Regions from separate parts of the Homo sapiens genome. Here region 1 is linked to region 2. The links are contacts of gene promoters, found by promoter capture Hi-C in blood cells and fetal thymus (Javierre and others, 2016). All regions are on one chromosome and are shown on one strand. The core of a region is centred on a gene start or on the middle of the fragment in contact, and the rest is flanking DNA. Distances in the headings are between cores, read along the strand shown. Region 1 overlaps RRP8 (ribosomal RNA processing 8). Region 2 holds the start of DCHS1 (dachsous cadherin-related 1).

Region 1 (4,238 bases), core at 1,537-4,036, 57 kb before region 2:
AACATCTGTTTAGGACATTCTTTAGTGGGATTTGTTTTTCCGGTCACAGTCACAATGACGGATTTAAAAAAAAAAGAGTATCTCAACTTCCTATTGGGAGTACATGTTTTCCCCTGATTTTAAACTCATGGGACAAAAAGAAAGTGTTGACTGGCATCTGGCAAGATAATTAAATATCTGAAACACCCTGAAGGAAACAAAGAGGGTACTGTGGTCAAGAGTAAGGTGGACAGGATACCATAGAAGATATATCCAGTGTATATAATGATAACTGCTAAAACACCCTCAAAACTCACTAGCAGAATGTAATCAAGTTTATTTTCTTGTTCAAAGTCCAATATGGATGTTTTTGGTCAAGTAGCTATTATGCCCTAAATAGTAACTCAGGTATTCAGACTTCTTCTATGCTATGACTCCATCACCGTCAAAACATGTGCTTCAAGGTTACCTTGAAGAGGAAGGAGGAAGAGAATAATGGAAATGGCTCAGCCACCCTTTAACTGCCTTGGTCTAGTATTGAAACATCACTTCCACTCATTTTCCACTGTTGAGAACTACTCACATAGGCCTAGATGCATGGAGCTGGGAAATGCAGTTTACCTGTGTCCAGAAAGAGGACATTTGGGTGAGCATCTGGCCAGTTTCTTCCACAGAAGCAAAGGTAATAGTGGTATGAATTCAGGAAGATGAAAATGAGCTCACTGGGGAAAGAGTATTCAAGGAAGATGGAGCATGTGCAAAGACTCTCAGTAGAAACAGTTTGGAAAGCTTGAGGAATAAAAAGCAAGTCTGTGTGGCTGGAGTTTTGTGAAAGGGGAGGAGTGGGTTAAGATGCAGATGGTGATGGTGACGGAGGCCTGGGCAAGATCACACGGGGCCTGAAAAGTTTGTCTTTTGTTCTCGAGGCAGTGAGAATCCATTGAAGGATTTTAAGCAGAGAAGTGACATAAGCTGATTTACATTTTAAAAAGATCACATGGCTGTGTGGAAAATTAATTGCTTTAGGGACACGAGTAGAAGCAATTAGACCACCAGTAAGGCAGTTACTGCAGGAGTTGGGTATCCTAAAACCAGATGGCTGGTCAGAGAATTCACCTGGGAAGGAGGATGACCAGGGGATGAAAGGTTCTAATTACTGGTCTCTGTGAAAAGCTGTAGAGAGTTTTGTGCAGTTACATAAATGGTTGGGTTTGGAGCTGAGCGGTGTCTCTGCCAAGATCATGTTGTTTCTTTTAGAACTGTGTTCCCTTAGGACTGGACTATATTATGGGAACAGAAGCTGGAGCACACCAATAACTGCAGAAGCAGTAACTATTTATTTGGAGAACTCTCAAAGGGATGCTGAACAAGCATGAGGCACGGATAACCAAACCCAATTTTATTCTTGTCTCTTACCACCCTCCAAATTTTATTCACTGGGAGGTACTCTCCCTGCTATGGAGAAAAGCTGCAGCGAGGTTGTGATGTTCTTAATAGATAGTCCTGTGATCAGTTTAAGGAACAAACATAATCTCAATTAATTAGAATGTCTAATCCTGTGTAACAATAATCTGCACCTGTTGCAGTTTTAAATCCCTTTTTCCTCTCCCAGCTCTGCCCCAGCTAAGTCTAGGAGCCTGCACTGGGAAAGGGAGGAGTGATTGGTATGCTCTTCCCTCTGCTCGGCTCCTCTCTACCTAATCACTGCTGATTGCTCTGGGCCCAAGTGATGAGGAGAGGTAAACAGATAAATCATTTTGCCCTGACTGGGTATTTCTATGCACTGTGGGCCTGGAAGATATTTCCTCTCCCCTATTCTCACTCTCAAATGATAAACTGGCTTCCTGCTCCCCTGAAAAAAAATCAAAGCAATCAGAAATGAACTTCTGGGGCCCTATCAGGAACTCTGGAAGAGGGCTTTCATAATGGAGCAACCTCTTACCACTGCCATTTACCTCAAACAGGCCCTCCACATTACTCAGCAATCCTTACCCCACTGCATTCTGAGTTCTCTCTCATCTCAATAGCACTCGACAGCTAACAACCTGCCCATCCTCCCATAAAAAAAAAAAAAAAAAAAACACTGGCTGGGCACAGTGGCTCATGCCTGTAATCCCAGCACTTTGGGAGGCCGAGGCAGGCCGATCACTCGAGGTCAGGAGTTCGAGACCAGCCTGGCCAACATGGTGAAACCCCGTCACTACTAAAAATACAAAAATTAGCTGGGCGTGGTGGCATGTGCCTGTATTCCCAGCTACTCGGGAGTCTGAGGCAGGAGAAGTGCTTGAACCAGCAGGCAGAGGTTTCAGTGACCTGAGATCACGCCACCGCATTCCAGCCTGGGCCACAGAGCAAGACTCTGTCTTAAAAAAAAAAAAAAAAAAAAATTAACTCTCCTGGTTTTACTCCTACATCTCTGGGTGAACCTTCTCCTCTTCCATCACCTTCACTGCTTCATTTTCCTTTACCCATCCATGACATGCTCCTCAGTTCTATTCTGAGCCATTTTCTCTTCTCATTATCTTACCCTGAATATCTCATCTATTCTGACTTTAATTACCACCTCTAGGCTGCTGATTCCCAGACCCCCAGCACAGATTTCACGCATGTCCCACTTCCTAAAATCCAACACTTTGAATGGCATCACCAGCCTACCCACAGTTGAGCAACCTGGAACTTACTTCAGATTCCTCTCTTACCAACCTCAACATCCCACCAATTCTACCTAATGAAGTTCTCCTGTCTGCCTACTTCTTCCATCATGACTAGTCAACAGTGCCCTCATCTTGTGCCCTAGTACCTGGGTTTCTATAACACCCCTGTTCTCATCTATCCCACTCAACTGGACCCTGTCATTCCTTATCTCTCCCTAGGTGAATAAGTACACTGGCTATATCTCAAATGACAAGCTCCGGGAATACAAAGATAAACATGGCTTGAGAAAACAGCAGCCAAATGCACAAAGGAATCACAATGCAATATTTAGAAGCTGAAGTAGCACTCTTCACATAGTACTTTGAGAGTACAGATGAAGAACTGATTTTGCTTTGGGAGTAGAATAGGAAACAACTAGGCTGTTCGGAAAGATGAGCAAACTGCCAGTCCGATGAATATCCAGCAGAAAGAACAGTACGTGTAGAGGCACTGTGTAGTGCCTGCCTAATGATTCACAGCCCAGCCTCCAAACATGCCCTCTGGACTACAGCCTGTTTCAAAACCTCCATCCCCTTATTAGAGGCATCCAACTGGCTCAGGGCATAGAACCTATGATCTCCCAATGGGTACTGTCAGGTATTCCTGGAAACAAGTACAAGAGGCCATATCTTTATACCTGGGCACATGGCAGATACCTTTTGGGGGAGGCCTAGAATCTATCATTCAAACTCACCTTCCCTCAGCACCTTGCCTATAGCTTTCCCAGGACATGCTGATCTGAGTCCACTGCAAGGCAGAGATAGTGGACAGACTCTTCCGCCAATGAACAGCCCAATGCCCCCAAGCCCACATGGCATCAACAAGTTGTTTATGAACAGAGACCCAGCTCCCTCACTACCCCTCCAAGGACAGAAGCTCAGAATCTATTAAAAGTCATTAAATAGCCTATGAAGCAGGCCTGTTGAAAGGTCTAGCCTCTCCCAGAGGCTTCCTTAGTCAACAAATCCATTCTTTACCCCTCAGCCTCCAACCAGCCTAGGGAAGATCTTCAAAAAACAATAAGGCTTACAACACATAATAGTCATAGCTAGTTTACTGAGCACCTCCTATGTTCCCAGCCCTGGCTACAGATTTCTCCAGTTAACCCACACAACCACCCTGCAAGACAAAAATTCTACCATTTTCCAAATGAGGAATGTGATATACAGAGATTAAATGACTTTAAGTGCCTCTGGGTAGCAGGCCAAGAATTAAATCCAGGTCTACCTGATTCCAAAATCTGTGCTCTCAGCTATATACATCCCAAAGTCCCACAGGACAATAGGTGTTGGGAGTGGCTTGATGCTATATGGTTCCAAAAATGGAGATGAGGGGAGAGGGGAAAGATAAACCACTAGAAATGCTCGGTATGGGGACAACCAAACAGTCTCAAGTTGGTGGCTCAGACTGATGTCTTGAGCCAAGATGTTGGTGGACAACCAGTTGCCTCAGAGTCAAACAGCAACAGCTGCCTGTCTGCAACCTTGAAGGCCTGGGCAAACTGAAGCTGAAGGAGCAGAAGCTATGGGTGAGCAGAGGAAGCTGATCTGTAGACAGATCAGATG
Region 2 (4,426 bases), core at 1,594-4,093:
CTTCTTCTCAGGCTCTTTCTCCAGTCTCCACATGGCTGTCAGAGTGGTATTTCTAAAATGAATCTGATCATATCGCTCCAAGCTTCCAATGATTTGGTGACTCTCCATTATTCTTGGGTTAAATGAATTTCTTTCTGTGGCCTCCTAGACCCTGCATGGTCTAAGCCTCCATTTACCTCTCCCACAGACTCTCCCTCTCTCGTCACCTCATGCTGTAAGTGTCAGGCTCACTGAACTGCTTTATCCCTCACACACACACTATTTTCCTTCATGTGGGCTTTTACATGCTGCTCCCTTGGCTTGGCATATTCTCCACCCACTCCATCAAGTTTAAGTTTAAATGCCACTTCCTCCAGAAAGACTCTTCTGACCTCCCTACACTGGCCTAGGTTACTCTGCTGTGTGCTGCTGTGTTACAACACTCACTCCACAGCCTGTAAGCTCCATGAGGATAAGGACCATGTCCATTTTGTTCACACTTGTGCTGCCAACTCTCATCACAATGCCTAGCAGAGTAGGTGCCTAGTATGTGTTTGTTAAATGAATGAATTAGCGTTTTGATTAATTAATCTACTGAAAACAATGGTGTGAGGGATGTGGGGTAATGAGTGTGAAGAAAATAGAAAAAAAATCATCTATTTATTTATGAAGGGCCCAGTTGAGGTTTGAATTTTTTAGAAGTATGAATTTATAGAAGCGTCCCCTGGTGTGGTTGAGAAATCATTCTAGTTAGGGGCAATAATTTGAGGGATGAGTATAGAAGACAAGGAAACACAGTGGCCAAGGAGTGGTTGAAGGGATGATCCTTAGCATATGAGCTGGAAAGAAAGCACAAAGTCAGAAAGGAACAGAGTAGGAGAAAACAAAGAGGTCAAGGGCAAGAGGTCATTATGAGGTCAAAGAGTGTAATGGGAGCGAGAACATCTGAAAGCTGGAAGGATATAGGAGGTTGTGGGTAGAGAGAGGAATGCAAGAGTTTAGAATTTTAAAGGTGGAATAGTTCTACAGAGTGGTCCTGGGAGGGAGGAAGGTAACAGGAGCTAAGGAGGTCAAGAATCTGTGAAGCTGTGGTGTTGAAGGACACTGAGAAACCATGGCAGGATACACTATCCAGATCTCGAAGTTTTCAGGGAACAAGAGGGTATACCTGGGAGATCTACGTATGAGAAGGGGTGAAGGTGTGAGCTTGATAAGTTAAGCAGAGTTTATTCAGAAGTTGGGACAGGTCTTCCTGTGGTGTGCATGCCATCCATGACTGTCTCCTGGGGGTTGTACAAGTGGCTGTGTGGTAAGGGCAACTGTGGCACAGCCTCCTGTTAGTGACAGGCTTCTAGGACACCCACTATGTATGGGCAGCTCCAAGGAAGTAAACCTAATAAGATGTGCTGTGACAGTTGTGACAGTGCTTCTGATGGATGTGGATTGCAGTGACAATGTCTCCTGAGAGGTGCTGGTCTACTTGTTTGTTGCTGGTGACAGTGTTTCTGGAGAGTGTTAGCAGTAACAATGTCTTCCATGGTATGTGTTGGCCTTGACAATGAACCGGTGGGAGTATGTTGGTTGCAGCATTTCTCCTGTGGGTGTGTGTTGTCATGAGAGCATTTTCCGTAGGTGTGTGTTGGCTTGATAGAGTCTGCTGTAGGTGTGTGTTGGTTCTGACTGGGGGTGCTTCCTGGGGGTGGGCTTCCTGGAAGTGTATGATGGCTGTGAGGGTATCTCTTGAGGATGTGTGTTCCCTGGGACTGTGTCCTCTTGTGGGTTGAGTAGGGCTATGACTGTGTCCCTATGGGTATTTGAGAAGTTGACATAAGCGACAATATTTTTCTGGCCTATGACCTTGTGGCTGTGGGCCCAGCCCGCCACACTGAGTTCATTGTGCTTCTAGACCTCCCTCTCCCCACCCCCTCCACGTGGGACCCACGCCTGCGGTGACCTTGCTCTGTCCCCTGCACGGGATTCTGAGCTGGGTATCCCAGACACAAACTCCCAGTTGCTCCAATCTCCCACTCAGAACACGTCTGGGTGACCCCCCCCTCCATCCACTTCAGGCTGTGCCTGCCTCTCCTCTGCTTCTCTGTACTTCTCCCCACTCAGTTTCTTTGTCTCTGTCTCAGTTGGTCTCTGTCACACACCCATCCTCCACATTCTGACACATGGGCTCCCACAGAGCGGGCAACACACCCTCACAGGGACTCGCTCACCATGACACACGGTCATTCTGACCCTCACACCCTCAGAGTGACACGCACATGCACACACAGCCAGAGAGACGCCCAGGGACACACAACCTCCCAGTGACACGCACTGACACACTCCGACGATGCACTGGAACACAACGCTGTCGCACCCCACACCCCCGGCGCACGCTCCCGCCGCCACCCTCCCCGACTCGATGACACACGCACACAAAGACCCCCAGGCCCTGCCCCCACGCTCACGTTCACGCCCGCCCGGGTCCCGCAGGCCCAGGCCCCCCCTCCCCCATTGTCTCCGGCTCAGAACAAAGCCCCCGGCTCCGCCGCCGCTGCCGCAGCCCAGGGGAGGCCGGCGGGCAGGGCGGGCGCGGCCAGACGGGCCGGGCGGGCGCGGGCACTGACCTCCGCGCGACGCGGGCTCCCTCGCCCGGTGCTGGGGCGCCGTCCGGCCGCGGTCAGCCCCCCGGGCAGCGCCCGCTCGCGCGGGGCCTGAGGCCGCGCATCGTCCGCAGTCGCTGTCTCCGAGGCCCGCGATCCCCTCCGGGCAGCCGCCGTCGGTCCGCGCGCCCTTGGCCGTCGATCGGTCCGTCCGCTGACGCCCGGGCGCCGCCTCCTGCACAGCCGCCCCGCCGAGGATGCGAGCTCCGCTGCCGCGGCCCCGCGCCCCCTCCCCTCCCCTCCCCCCGCCCTCCGCGCGGTAACCCGAGCCCCCGCCCCTCCGCCCGCGGAGCCCCCGCCCCCGCCCCCACCCGCGCTCCGCGCCGCCGCCCCCCCTTCCCCCCGGCGCCCGCCCGGCCTCCCTCCGCCCCTCCACTTCCCGGCCCCAGGCCCCGGCTCCGGATCCGGCCCCAGCGCCGCGCCGCGCCCCCGTCCCGGTTCCCTTCCCTTCTCCCCGTCACTTCTCCCGTCCTCTCCTCCCATTCGGTTCTCTACGCCCTCTCGTCTCTTCCCCTTCTCGCCGCTCCCTGCTGCTCACCTCCTCCTCTTCCATCTTCTTTCCATCCCCTATTCCCCTCTTCTCCCTCAGTGCCCTGGTCTCCCTCTCGCCCCTTCTTTTTCCCAACCGTCATCTCCATTCCCCTCTGCCTTTCTCCCATCCTCTTCTTCTCGCCCCATCTCCATCATTTTCTCCCCAGCTCTTCTCCCCTTTCTCTTCTCCTTACCCCTTCTGCTTGATCTCTCTCCAGCCTCTTTACATCAGATTCTCCTTCCCCACCTCTCCTTTTATCCTTTTCTTCCTATCCCTTTCTCCCCGTCTCTTCTCCCCACCTTTCTCCCCATCCCCTTCTCCCTGTGTCTTTCGCCTCACCTCATCATCCCCTTTTCCTCACGCCTTCTCCTCATTCCCTTTTCTCACCCCTGCCCTTTTCACTACCCGCTGTCTCTTCCCCTTCTTCCATCGTAACCTCGGCCTTCTCCCCTGTTAGTCACTTTTCATTATCCCATGATTTCTGTCTCTTTTCTCTCCTTCACCCCCAGGCTCCCTTTCCCCCACTTTCTCTTTATCCCAAATTTGAGGGTAGAGATCGGGAGATATTGGAAAGAAGAGCTTTGGGGATGGTGGTCCCACTCACGATATACTCCCTAGAAAAATTAAGTGAGGAGGAAACCGGGCAGGGAAGTGGGAAGGGGCTCAAAAAACCAACTTGGGAGAGAATATGGGGAGAGGGGAAATCAGACAGAGACAAAGAGCAAGCAATCTTAAAGGAACTGGGAAGAGTTCTGACTCCTGTCCTTCTTCCTTAGGACTGCGAGTAGACTGTGAGAAAAACAGGTTTTCTGGACTTGAGATGTGTACAAATGGCACAAAGAAATCAGGAACTTCTGTGGAGAAGGAACACAGTTTCAGCTGAAGAAGAAGGGAGTGTGATTTTGGAAGAGGAGTGAGGGAGAGACTGGGGTCCTTGATCATATCCACGGCGCTTGGGCAGCTGGGTGGATGGATGGTGGTGAGGCTGGCTGTGCTCCACAAAAGGAGCAGCAGGAGGCTGCAGGGGGTTCGTATGAGGAGATGATGACTGTGACTTGGGGCTGCTGACTTTGAAGTGCTGGTTGGGTAGGTAGGTCTGCAACTTAGAGGAGCGGTCTGGGATGGACATAAATATTTGGGAGTCATCTGCAAATGCCGTATAAGCTTGAATATAGGGTGAAGTTTTTGCTTTTTTGTTTTTCCAAAATCATCCCTCAGGAAAGAGGGAGTAACCTTATATTTGAGTCCTTACAAGGTCTCT

The links. Contacts are between HindIII fragments. The CHiCAGO score rates a contact against its expected background, and 5 or more counts as called.
Region 1: a contact is called between a fragment that was not itself captured here and the fragment with the promoter of DCHS1 in region 2, in 4 of 17 cell types (non-activated CD4 T cells, activated CD4 T cells, total CD8 T cells and 1 more). The highest score is 7.6, in non-activated CD4 T cells.

The regions. Positions count from the first base shown.
Region 1 is chr11:6,595,545-6,599,782 of GRCh38, forward strand. RRP8 (ribosomal RNA processing 8) reads right to left here. Exons shown (of 7, transcript NM_015324.4): 7 at 1-4,238. Among named protein-coding and RNA genes, the nearest start is that of RRP8, 6.0 kb to the right of the region's middle. RefSeq lists a silencer at 3,035-3,329. The HindIII fragment of the contact is 4,041 bases long and covers 767-4,238 here.
Region 2 is chr11:6,652,966-6,657,391 of GRCh38, forward strand. It overlaps DCHS1 (dachsous cadherin-related 1), which reads right to left and starts at 2,844. Exons shown (of 21, transcript NM_003737.4): 1 at 2,598-2,844. The HindIII fragment of the contact is 4,247 bases long and covers 81-4,327 here.